Regions from separate parts of the Homo sapiens genome. Here region 1 is linked to region 2. Evidence: promoter capture Hi-C in human tissues and cell types (Jung and others, 2019). All regions are on one chromosome and are shown on one strand. Each heading gives the region's core, a stretch centred on a gene start or on the middle of the fragment in contact. The rest is flanking DNA. Distances are from core to core; before and after follow the strand shown.

Evidence for each region. Contacts are between HindIII fragments. The study calls those that stand out against the background at their distance.
Region 1: a contact is called between a fragment that was not itself captured here and the fragment with the promoter of C2orf80 in region 2, in 3 of the 25 tissues and cell types used here (mesendoderm cells, spleen and thymus).

What each region holds. Positions count from the first base shown.
Region 1 is chr2:208,232,492-208,239,508 of GRCh38, reverse strand. IDH1 (isocitrate dehydrogenase (NADP(+)) 1) reads left to right here. Exons shown (of 10, transcript NM_005896.4): 9 at 276-438; 10 at 2,340-3,280. The coding sequence ends at 2,430. Among named protein-coding and RNA genes, the nearest start is that of IDH1, 19 kb to the left of the region's middle. The HindIII fragment of the contact is 3,898 bases long and covers 2,296-6,193 here.
Region 2 is chr2:208,185,841-208,192,514 of GRCh38, reverse strand. C2orf80 (chromosome 2 open reading frame 80) reads left to right here and starts at 2,485. Exons shown (of 9, transcript NM_001099334.3): 1 at 2,485-2,562; 2 at 5,454-5,569. The coding sequence starts at 5,529. The HindIII fragment of the contact is 5,855 bases long and covers 1-5,453 here.

The DNA of each region.
Region 1 (7,017 bases), core at 2,995-5,494, 45 kb before region 2:
TATAGACAAGAGATAGAAGAGATTGTGACCTTTTTCAAATTAGAAAATGCCTTAAGTTTCAAACACTAGTACCATGCCATGAAAATGTGTTTTTTTAAAGTTTCTGTTTGGTAAAATATTTCTAACTCTCCTAAAACTTCTAGCCCATGTGGTTAGTATCTAAAGAAGTCTGTCACCTAAACAAAAAACTATTCTGTTTTGGGGAACTATGAGACATTTGGAAACCTCTATAACTAGGATGATTGGAGTGTTGTGTTTTTTTTCCCCTCTTTTAGCTTCCATTTTTGCCTGGACCAGAGGGTTAGCCCACAGAGCAAAGCTTGATAACAATAAAGAGCTTGCCTTCTTTGCAAATGCTTTGGAAGAAGTCTCTATTGAGACAATTGAGGCTGGCTTCATGACCAAGGACTTGGCTGCTTGCATTAAAGGTTTACCCAAGTAAGTATAAGATGCCCTAGTTTCTATGGTCAAATTAACACTTATCCTCACTGGGCTCAGAGCATCGGTGCTTTCTGGAATTATATAAATTGTTATTCATCATCTAGTTCAGGAGTCAGCAGATATCTGTAAATTGTCAGATAGTGAACATTTTAGGCTTTGTGGAACATATAGTCTTTTTGCAACTACACAACTATTCAACTTTGCCTCTGCCATTGTAGCAGGAAAGCAGTCATAGACAATACAGAATCAAATGGTGTGGCTGGTACCAATCAAACTTTTATGTTCAAAACCAGCCTCGATTTGGTTCATGTGCTGGGCTGTAATTTGCTGACATCCCATCTAGTTGATAATCATTGAACGAAAAGGTTCTATTTAATTTTAAGAAGCAGATTATAGACAAATAGAAACAAAGATACTTCAGAGGCTATTTTATTCTACTCCTTTATTTTCTTTAACTTACTGATGAGAAAAGTGAGCAGCACAAGTTTAAGGTGTGCAATTGATTACAGTCCCTTAAGTATCTGTAACCAATATTTGGGCAAATATTTGACAGCCCATATGTTTACTGAGAATTTTTCTGAGAACATAGTAGCCAGTATCCTGGGGGGATTGTCTCCATATCTCAACCAGTGCATCTGCAGAGGTCCCAGGTAGGGTCAGTATACCCCATAATGGGGATATACTTGGTCACTGCATGTTTCTTAATTTAAATTTCCAACAAGATTGCAGTGTTCGCTGGGTGCTGTGGCTCATGCCTGTAATCCTAGCACTTTGGGAGGCCGAGGTGGGTGGATCACGAGGTCAGGAGATCAAGACCATCCTGGCTAACACAGTGAAACCCCATCTCCACTAAAAATACAAAAAATTAACCAGGCGTGGTGGCGGGCACCTGTAGTCCCAGCTACTCGGGAGGCTGAGGCAGGAGAATGGCGTGAACCTGGGAGGCGGAGCTTGCAGTGAGCCGAGATGGTGCCACTGCACTCCAGCCTGCGTGACAGAGCGAGACTCCATCTCAAAAAAAAAAAAAAGATTGCAGTGTTCAAAATGGTCTTATCAGTGGAATACCTTTGTAGCCTATTTAACAGGCACCTGTCAGCAGGATTATGTTATCCTGTCTTTTGTTTTTCTTTTTTTTTCTTTTTATTGAGACAGAGTCTCGCTTTGCCCAGGCTGGAGTGCAGTGGCGTGATCTTCGCTCACTGCAACCTCCGCCTCCTGGGTTCAAGTGATTCTTCTGCCTCAGCCTCCCAAGTAGCTGGGACTTGTGCCACAACACCCGGCTAATTTTTTTTTTTTTTTTTTTGTATTTTTAGTAGAGACGGGGTTTCACTTTGTTAGCCAGGATGGTCTCCATCTCCTGACCTCATGATCCACCCGCCTTGGCCCCCCAAAGTGCTGGGATTATAGGCGTGAGCCACCAGGCCCGGCCTGTCTTTTGTTTTTCTTAAGACACTGATAGAAATAACAACATTATAACTTTTTTTAAGGACATGTAACGGTTTGTGGGAAGGTGGGTAAAGGTTTGGCTATGCCCTGAATAAGTTTTGTTATGTTTAAGAATGAGGAAGAAGTGTGATGATTTTGGTCTCAGCAGCATTAGTCTGAACCGAAACTCAATGATAATTTCACCCCCAAAGCTACATAGCAAGAAACCTAACTGAGTATGTATGGCTGTCTCTACTGCCGGTTGCCTAGAGAGCCTGAGTACTGAGCCTGGGTCAGCCCCAGGAACCCTGAACATAGTCATTGTCTATAGATTTTGTAGCTTACTAACATGAATGCGTTTTCTTCCAGAAACAAATAGAATACTATTTTAAGTAGCATTTCTAGGACTTTACCACTACCTGCTACCATATCAGAGACCAACTAAATTTTCTTTTTTTTTTCCTTCCCGTTAGTGTGCAACGTTCTGACTACTTGAATACATTTGAGTTCATGGATAAACTTGGAGAAAACTTGAAGATCAAACTAGCTCAGGCCAAACTTTAAGTTCATACCTGAGCTAAGAAGGATAATTGTCTTTTGGTAACTAGGTCTACAGGTTTACATTTTTCTGTGTTACACTCAAGGATAAAGGCAAAATCAATTTTGTAATTTGTTTAGAAGCCAGAGTTTATCTTTTCTATAAGTTTACAGCCTTTTTCTTATATATACAGTTATTGCCACCTTTGTGAACATGGCAAGGGACTTTTTTACAATTTTTATTTTATTTTCTAGTACCAGCCTAGGAATTCGGTTAGTACTCATTTGTATTCACTGTCACTTTTTCTCATGTTCTAATTATAAATGACCAAAATCAAGATTGCTCAAAAGGGTAAATGATAGCCACAGTATTGCTCCCTAAAATATGCATAAAGTAGAAATTCACTGCCTTCCCCTCCTGTCCATGACCTTGGGCACAGGGAAGTTCTGGTGTCATAGATATCCCGTTTTGTGAGGTAGAGCTGTGCATTAAACTTGCACATGACTGGAACGAAGTAGGAGTGCAACTCAAATGTGTTGAAGATACTGCAGTCATTTTTGTAAAGACCTTGCTGAATGTTTCCAATAGACTAAATACTGTTTAGGCCGCAGGAGAGTTTGGAATCCGGAATAAATACTACCTGGAGGTTTGTCCTCTCCATTTTTCTCTTTCTCCTCCTGGCCTGGCCTGAATATTATACTACTCTAAATAGCATATTTCATCCAAGTGCAATAATGTAAGCTGAATCTTTTTTGGACTTCTGCTGGCCTGTTTTATTTCTTTTATATAAATGTGATTTCTCAGAAATTGATATTAAACACTATCTTATCTTCTCCTGAACTGTTGATTTTAATTAAAATTAAGTGCTAATTACCATTCTTCTGCGTTTCTGTTTATTGGATGCCAAGCACCACGCTACATCCTAGCCATAGGAGTGTAATCTGAAAAAATTCTCTGCTCTTAAAAAGTTTACCATGGTGGAAATAGATAAGTAAATAGTAAGATGTAGATCCTGCAGTGAAAGGAAAGAGGACCAAAGAGGGAACTACAGGAAGAATTAAGGAATATTAGAGAATAGATTATGTCTATGCACATGCTAAGGAGTTTAGTCATTATCTTATAAATGATTAGGGAGCCAATGAAGACTTTTAAGAAATAAGGGACTTGATCATATTTTTATTTTTAAAAATAGCACTCTGGGAAACTTTGATAAAAAATGGATAGTGGCTTTGAGAGGCCAAGGCAGGCAGATCACAAGGTCAGGAGTTCGAGACCAGCCTGGCCAATACGGTGAAACCCCATCTCTACTGAAAATACAAAAATTAGCCAGGTGTGGTGGCGCACACCTGTAGTCCCAGCTACTTGGGAGGCTGAGGCAGAAGAATCGCTTGAACCTGAGAGGTGGAGGTTGTAGTGAGCTGAGATCGTACCACCGCACTCCAGCCTGGATGACAAAGTGAGACTCCGTCTCAAAAAAACGAAAAAAGAATGGATGGTTTGGGGTGGGGAGGAGACTGTTGGGTGCAGTTGAGGAAGGAGGACCAGTTAGGAGGCTGTTGCGATACTTTAGTGGGAAATGATGAAGATCTGACTGGAACAGTGGCACCAGGAAGAGAACGGGATAATCCCTGGGATAAGGAAGTTGAATGGATGGGTCTTGGCAAGACCAAGGATATGTGGGGATGGAGGGACAGCAGCAAGTCAAAGATGCTTCCCACTTTCTGGCTTCACACCTGGGGAAAGGCTGCTCCACATCCTAGCATCTCTGGGAGGGAGGCCCTGGTGAGCTTTTGCGCTCTCACACGTCAGAAGTCAGTGAGTTGGGGTGGGGACCCTTGGTAATTTCTAGTCTACCTTCCTGGCAAGCTTGGAGTTGGGCCCCAGACACTGCTCTACACAAATCCCCTTGAAGGCCCAATGAAACATGGAGCCTTTCAGAATCCGATGGCATGGAGCTTATTCAGAATGAGCTTTTGACCAATTTCCCTCAGTGCTACCCCCAAAATACATCCAAATCCAAGCCCACAGTCCTAGAACACCCTGTTGAGAGGAGATTCTCATGAAGTAGGGGAGGCCCATGTGGCTTGGGCAATTTATTCCTGGCCAAATTGAAGTTAGAATCCAAACCACATGAGCTCTCCTGGCAAGGGAAATAAAAATCAATTTTCACATGAGATCAACCAGTGTCAGGTCACTCAGGTGGTAGGAAAAAAAAAAAAGCATTGCTTCTAGTTAACATCAAGAAAGAGGCAATAAATATTTTCATCTCATGTAAGATTTTTAAGATTTTTCAGTAAAAGATTTTATAACCTATATTATCTGTAGTTTTGTAAAAAGAATAGAGATCTACGTAAATTAGAATACAAGACACATAATCGTTGTTTCTCTGGTGGCTTTTTGCTGATAAATTCAACTAGTCTTTGCCTCAATATAACGACATGCCAATGACTCATTTTAACATTAATACCTGTAAGTTTTTTTAATAGGATAGATTGGGATTATAAGGAAAAGGAATGTAAATTCTTTTTATGTGCCTTCATACTATCTCATTTAATTCTCACCAAAGTCTTAAGAAGTTGACTCTATAGCACTGATTTTTTTATGAGAAAGCAAAAAATTAGAGATGTTATTAATAATTAACTTAAAGGTGGAGCTGATATTTTCTTCCAAAAGGCCACAGGTCTTTCTCTCTTTGGAAAATAGATTTTTTTTTTTTTTTCTGAGATGGAGTCTTGCTCTTTTGCCCAGGCTAGAGTGCAACGGTGTGATCTTGCCTCACTGCAGCCTCCGCCTCCTGGGTCCAAGCAATTCACCTGCCTCAGCCTCCCAAGTAGCTGGGATTACAGGTGCCGGCCACCAAGCCTGGCTAATTTTTGTATTTTTAATAGAGATGGGGTTTCACCATGTTGGCCAGGCTGGTCTTGAACTCCCAACCTTCCACCTTGGCCTCCCAAGGTGCTGGGATTACAGGCGTGAGCCACCGCACCCAGCCAAAAACATATTTAAAGCCCTTTGATGTCCAATATACTGGTTAAATGTAGTGTTCTTCAGATTATTACATATTTGGCTTTTTATAAAATTCAAATTGTTTTAACATTTTAAACTTTACATCCAAAAAAAATTGTCAAATAAAATGTGTTTTGCACTCTCCTCCTCTCATCTAAACTTATTACTCAGCTGAGCACAGTGGTTCATGCTTGTAATCCCAGCATTTTAGGAGGCTTGAGGTCAGGAGTTCGAGACCAGCCTGGCCAACATGGTGAAACCCCATCTCTACTAAAAATACAAAAATTAGCCAGGCGTGGTGGTTGTAGTTACTCAGGAGGCAGAAGCAAGAGAAACACTTGAACCTGGGAGGCAGAGGTTGCAGTGAGCCAAGATTATGCCACCGCAGTCCAGCCTGGGCAACGGAATGAGACTCCATCTCAAAAAAATAATAAAAATTTTAAAAAATAAACTTATTACTCTTTTTTCAGATTTTTGCCTGGTAAACTCTTCATAACTGTTAGAGCATCCATTTCCTCTTTCATTAACAAGATTTTAATAAATTTTAAAAGAGTTTTGGGCCGGGCATGGTGGCTCACACCTGTAATCCCAGCACTTTGGGAGGCTGAGGCAGGCGGATCTCTTGAGGTCAAGACCAGCCTAGCCAACATGGCGAAACCCCGTCTCTACTAAAAATACAAAAATTAGCCAGGCATGGTGGTGGTCACCTGTAGTCCCAGCTACTCAGGGGGCTGAGGCAGGAGAATCCCTTGAACCGGGGAGGCGGAGGTTGCAGTGAGCTGAGATTGTACCACTGCACTCCATCCTGGGCAACAGAGTGAGATTCCGTCTCCAAAAAAAAAAAAAAAAAAGTGTTTTGTTTCTACTACTTTTACCAAAGTTGCAAAATACATCAGTGGCCATTTTGGACCAGAACTTGGGACTCACATTTCAGGTTTGGGTAGGAGATGAAAGCATCACATACAACAAAATGATGGCATTGGACTGGGTGATTTTAAATAGTTCCTCCAGCACTCACAAGCATCCTCAGAGTTGATCTGGTGAGTGCAGATCAACATTTGGCCTAATGTCTATCAGGATCAGCATTTGGCCAAGAACCAGTTAATGTTCTAAAATAATTAGCAAATGAACAGATGCTGACCAATACATTCAGAGGCTGATGGTTTATTATGTAACAACTAGAGGGTCAGAATTGTTGACCTAGAAAATGACTGCTCTTTAGCACAACATTGAAGGCAGCAGGATCCAGGGACAGGGAACATATGAGTTCCAGACTTCAAAACTCTAAATTGTAGGTACTGTTTCTTAGGAAGAATTTCTAACTGAAAATATTTAAAATTTAATCTTAGCAGTCAGAATCACAGCTCCCTTGTGTTCTTGCTTGATACATAAAATCCTTCTACAATATTAACAAGTGACCCATCATCTACTTCAATATTACATAATAAATATTTCCCCCAAATTAAGGGTCTTGGCTCTTCTTATTAAGAAGGAAATTAGAAACTAATATAAAGAATGATAATAATGATAATGAAGACTTTGAATATTTATATCAATACTGATAAAAGTTTTGCACTCACCTCTCTAGTATTAGAGATTTTCACAAC
Region 2 (6,674 bases), core at 1,236-3,735:
TTATAATGAGGTATCAACAATAGGGAGTCAAAAAGAAAAATAACTCAGTTTATTTTCTGTTTTTTTGGTTTGTTTGTTTGTTTGTTTGTTTGTTTGTTTGTTTTTGAGACAGGGCCTCACTCTTTCACCCAGGCTGGAGTGGAGGGGTGTAATCACAGCTTACTACAGCCTCAGCCTCCTGGGTTCAAGCAATCCCCCCACCTCAGCCTGCTGAGTAGCTTGGACTGTAGGGACACACCACAATGCCCAGCTAGTTTTTATCATTTTTTGTAGAGACAGGATTTTGCCATGTTGCTCAGTCTGATCTTGAACTCTTAGGCTCAGGCAATCTACCCACCTCAGCTTCCTAAAGTGCTGGGATGACAGGCATGAGCTACCACACCCAGCCTACAGTTTAGTTTTAATTATAAACAAAATATTAGAATAAATTGAAAATGGCTGGGCGTGGTGGCTTATGCCTGTCATCCCAGCACTTTGGGAGGCCAAGGCAGATGGATCATTTGAGCCCAGGAGTTTGAGACCAGCCAGGGCAACATAGTGAGACCTCATTGCTACAAAAAAAAAAATTAATTAAAAAATAAAAAATTGTCTGGGTGCGGTGGCTCACGCCTGTAATCCCAGCACTTTGGGAGGCCGAGGCGGGCAGATCACCTGAGGTCGGGAGTTCAAGACCAGCCTCATCAACATGGAGAAACCCTGTCTCTACTAAAAATACAAAGTTAGCCGGGCGTGGTGGCGCATGCCTGTAATCCCAGCTACTCCAGAGGCTGAGGCAGGAGAATCGCTTGAATCCGGGAGGCGGAGGTTGTGGTGAGCCAAGATCACACCATTGCACTCCAGCCTGGGCAACAAGAGCAAAACTCCATCTCAAAAAAATGAATAAATAAATAAATAAATAAAAGTAAACAGTCATAGTAGAGGAGAGACTGAATTATTTTTTAATTCTCTCTATAGAAAATACTATGAAACCTTGGTCCTATTAACAGATAATCAAAGAGTATGTAAGAAAAAAAGGAATTTTAGTGTATGTTAGGCAGTTAGTAATCATGAAAATATTAATACTGATTTTTTGTTTGTGGTATTTTTCAGCTCTTTAAAATTTGTAACTTGTAATTAATAGTTCTAAATAAACATACAATTTTGTATTAGTTTCATATTTACAATTCTGCATTCTTTTTATTAAAGACGGTCCCCATAATGTATAAACTTCAGGCTCACCAAACCCGGAAGTGTCTAGGTACAATATAAACTCAATATGGAGTGAACAACTAGTTTAGAAAATTCTATATCTAGGGTTTTGTTAGTGTCTTTCATAATATGACCTCAGGTAATCAAGTGACTTACTTGGCCAGTGGAAAGGAGTGGAAATAAAGATTAAGAGGTGTCAATAACAGACACCCAGCCGTAGATGGGCCAGAAGAACAAACTCTGCCCCTAGTCTAGTGGTATAGAGGAGACACAGACAGAAACCATTAACAAGCTTTAAGCAAGGGAGCAAGTGTTTAAGACTAGGAGGCAGGCGTGTGGGCAGGGATTGTCAGGCCTCTGAGCCCAAGCCAAGCCATCACATCCCCTGTGACTTGCACATATACATCCAGATGGCCTAAAGTAACTGAAGATCCACAAAAGAAGTAAAAATAGTCTTAAGTGATGACATTCCACCATTGTGATTTGTTTCTTCCCCACCCTAACTGATCAATGTGCTTTGTAATCTCCCCCCGCTTAAGCAGGTACTTTGTAATCTCCCCCACCTTTAAGAAGGTTCTTTGTAATTCTCCCCACCCTTGAGCATGTAGTTTGTGAGATCCACCCCCTGCCCACAAAACATTGCTCCTAACTCCACCGCCTATCCCAAAACCTATAAGAACTAATGATAATCCACCACCCTTTGCTGACTCTCTTTTCGGACTCAGCCCGCCTGCACCCAGTTGAAATAAACAGCCATGTTGCTCACACAAAGCCTGTTTGGTGGTCTCTTCACACAGACGCACATGAAAGGGATCTCATCTATAATTAGAAAGATGGTGCTAGCTTGAACCCAGGTGATGTTTCTTCAGGATTGCCACTGTTTTGTATTGACATTCATCGAGTAGAATGATCTTTGGGTCATTGGGTACTTTGGGGCACCCTAACTATGTAGGAGCCAGAGTTTCACTAGCTTCCCCAGCAATCCTTGCTTAGTCAATTGATTCCTATGTCTGCAGCCAAATGCTATAAAAAACTCTGGGGAAGGTAAACTCCTCCCATCCTCTTGGTTTTTCAATTAATCATTTAGATGGGAAACATAAGCCTACTCAGGTAAAAAGACACGTGAACTTCAGGCCAGGATCACAATCCTGTCCCAAATATATGACTTTCCACCCTCCCTCAACCCTTAATGGGGGTGGGCGTAGGGGAGTGTATTTTTAAAACAAATGATTTTAATTCATTCACTGTTTCCTAGCAACCAGGAAAAAGCATGTGTTCCTGATGTCTGTGAGCACCAGTCTGAGATGCGCGGATGCTTCAGCATGCCTCCAGAAGCAGAGAAAGAACAAAAGCACTGGAACCGGTCTCCGGTTGGTGAGCGATTCTCAAAGGGGAATTTGTTAAGAGCAGGCACTTAATAGAACAGCCCGAGAGACCTGTACCACGATTGCAGGTGTGCAGCAGGGAACCTGCATGGAATGTGCAGATATTCTCCAGGAAATGATATTCCTATAGAATTTGGGGGCTCTGACTTCTAGGGAATTGTTTCTATGAAACAGCTAAAGCCTGAGACAGCTGACATCTTTCCAGTACCTCTTTTGTGTGTGCTTTCAGCCACACACAAAACACACAGCGGTCTTGTTTTCTTTAGAGCTCTATAGACAGAGAAGAGGGATAACTGGCAGAATTCAAATCTAGCTGAATTAGAATCCATGCAAATGGCCTTCTTTAGACCAGGCGTAGCTACTAAATGCATATAAATCACTGACTTCCACAGCTGTAAGGGACCTCTCCAATCATTCAACGCTTGTTTTACAGAGGAAGAAATGAAAAAACATAGGCAAATTAATTTGTTCAAGGTGCACAGCTAGTTGGTGGCCTCACAGGGTCTTCTGACCTACAGTTTAGTGGTTTGGGAGTGGGACATACTCATATTTTAAAGACTGAAACCTTTGCATATTATACCATATTGAATGGTGGTGGTGGGGGCAGGGGATGGGGAGGATGAGGGATGATCTAAGACGAAGCTGTCATAACAACGAAGCAATGCAAATATTATAACTTGTAAATCTGAAACTCAAAGGGCTTTCTCAGAATTACAAGACAAGAATGGATTAAAGCACATGCTAACTGTGCCTTACTCCCTGCCAAGGAATTGAGATAGGCCAAATAGTCTAGCAACAAATGTTTTTCCAAACTATTGAATCAGAAGAATTTTAATGCATGCCAGACTTTATAGAGTTACAGAATGTTAGGGTAAGAAGTGCTCTTGGCAATGTTAACCAGGCCCATCTTTTTCGGATAACACCTGAGGCTGGGAAGCAGAAGACGCACAGCCACATCAATGAGTGTGGCTTTCCTGGGTCCAGTGCTCTCTCTTCTCTAGGCAATAGGGCCACCTCTATGGCTTGCTGCATCCTCTCCCCATTGACTCTGTAGGGAGCAATATTATTGTCTTGATACTTAATCAATTTCCTGTGAAATGCTCTTACTTTCTTCCCCACTTTCATCTTATCCACATCCCGTCCACTCCCCAAAAACTAAAGCAGATGTAGCAGCAGCAAGAATGATCCAAAATGGCTGGGCACGGTGGCTCACGCCTGTAATCCCAGCACTTTGGGAGGCTGAGGCAGGTGGATTACAAGGTCAGGAGATGGAGACCATCCTGGCCAATATGATGACACCACCCGGTCTCTACTAAAAGTACAAAACAATTAGCTGGGCTTGGTGGCGTGCACCTGTAGTCCCAGCTACTTGGGAGGCTGAGGCAGGAGAATCACTTGAACCCAGGAGGCAGAGGTTGCAGTGAACCGAAATTGTGCCACTGCACTCCAGCCTGGTGACAGACCGAGACTCCGTCTCAAAAAAAAAAAAAAAATCCAAAATAATGAAGGTGGCCTAGGGAAGCATTCATTTAGATCAGCGCCATCCTGTTGGCTCTCTGCTTACTGTTGGTAGAGCTGAATCAAGTGAAGCTTAGTGTTTATATGGTACCATTTTCAAAAAACCGTTTCTAAAGTTTGTTTTCCAATCATCTTTAGAGTAGTGATTTAAATATACGTACAATTTTAAAAGTACAAAGGGTAGTATAATGAACATCCATGGACTTAGAATTCCAGAGTCAACAACTATTAACATTTTGTTATATTTGAGTATTAGGGTTCCTCAGAGAAATTGAACTGACAGGATGTGTGTGGATACACACACACACACACACACACACACACACACACACACACACGGTGCAGTATAGGCTTAACCATCTCTTTCAAATATTTTGATTTTACAGAATTGGCTCACATGATTGTGGAGTCTTGGCCAGTCCAAAATCTGATAGAGGAGGCCAGCTGCCAGCAGACTCAGGGAAGAGTTGCAGTTTGAATCCAAAGGCTGCCTACTGGCAGATTCCTTCTTGCATGGGGGAGGTCAGTCTTTTGTTCTATCAAGGCTTTCGACTGATTGGAAAAGGCTCACTCAGATAGAGGGCAATCTGCTTTCAAAGTCCACTGATTTAAATGATAATCTCATTAAAAAAAAAACACCAGAAACATCCGGGATAAAGTTTGAACAACTATTTGATCATAGAGGCCCAACCATAAAATAAATTTAAAAATAAATAAAACATCACAAATAGAGTTGATACCCTATTTATACCTCTCCCTGTGTACCCCATTCAATAGTGATGATTTTCTATAGACTCCTTTTTGGTGACTTCAGACTCCTTTTGACCCCATCACCTGATCTTCAATTTCTGGTTCAATGTGGGGGTGGGAATTGAAGACATATTTCCCATAACCATATTTTCTTTCAAGGATCTCCTGGCAATAGGAGAGTGTAGATGGATTCTATGGAAAACTCCATTATGAGCCACTGAGCCAGGGTGAACTCACTGGGAGTTGAATGCTCACAGAAAAACCCAAACACATTCAGATCTAGATGGATCACATCCATCTAGTTTGGATGGTTCTGCCCGAATAGTCTCATCAGCTATTACACAAACCATTTTGGTTTTACTTGCTAGATTATTGCAAGGAAGAGTAAATTAAGTAAATAAGTGTTGGAAAAATTTGGAAGGAATAAAAGGTGTCAAATAAACACAAAAGTACAGTGCATGAGCCTCCAGGTGGCTTTTTGACCCTGAACCTGCCGAGTAAGAGGCCTGAATGAGGTGCTCCCTCAGATCCCTTCCAGAGCCTAGGACTCCATGACTGGTATTTGGAGTGATAGCATCCCTAACTCATATTCTCTCTGATTTGCTGCTGTAGCCTCTAGACTCAGAGAAGCTGGGTCTAAGTGTAGTGTTAGCTGCAGATACCTGCTCAGCTGGCTAAGCCTTTAACATGGAAAGAAGGCTCATAAAGAAGGAAATGAAAAAGCTCTTGTAAGTATGACTGAGAATAACTTTCATTTATGACACTTGGCATTCGGTGGATTTCATGTCATAGATGGCTTGGGTATTGGCAGTGGGTAAAAATCTAAGAATCTATTTCTGCATGGTAGGAGAAAACCAGAGGATGATCTGGCCTCTCTCGGTTTCCTGCCAGGGAGGCCTCACCTGTGGTGCGAGGCAGGATGCTGAAACACTTGGGAGGATGTTTCTGCTGGCAGCCTGCACATCCGAGGCATCCACATTCTAGAGCCTGAGAGCTGAGCCTATGTCCCAGTCAGCCTGTGTAGGCAAGATACACCGTTGAAAGGGGCTGGCCCTGCTGGTAAAAGGTATAAGAGAGATTCCTGAAAGGGCCCAGAATCTAAATTGCAGCCTCTGCTCTGCCTCTTTTATTGTCAGCCTTATCAACTAAGAAATTCATCTCCTTTTTCTTTACATCTGAACATTTTTAAAACGAACACAGAAAACATCAAGTTTCCTGTGAAAGAAATGTTTTCCTCCCATGGCAGTGTTTCTTTGACTTGTACTTAACAAATGTTGGTGAAAGATCACAAACCATATAAAAAGAAAAAAGAAAGATTATGTTCTATGTCATATGTGTTATAGACAAAACAGTAATAGCCTTTTCATCAAAGAGCTTATCACCATCCCCATCAAATATCTTTTCTCGGCCTCCTAAGATAATTTTATTTTAACAAGCCTTTAAGAAATACTAGAAGAAACTATGAATATACATATATGTACATATATACATGTATACACATATATGTGAATTCATATATAGTACACGTGTACACATATATGTGTATGCACATATATGTGAATTCATATTCATCTCTTGCTTTTAAGCAGAGATTATATTGGCATCAGACTTCAGGAAAATGAATTTGACCCAAAAGGAAGAAGGGAACTTACCTTTCTAGATGATATGGTAAAGAAAGACATGCTGATGCGAGTCATATTTGTGTTATATGTTAGAGGCCAATAGAATAGTAAAGAACAAACCATGATCAGGAATGCCAACTCTTCCACATATCTCATCCAAATAATTGGAATTTCAAAAGTGATATAAATACAAGTTTATATCCAAAGAATA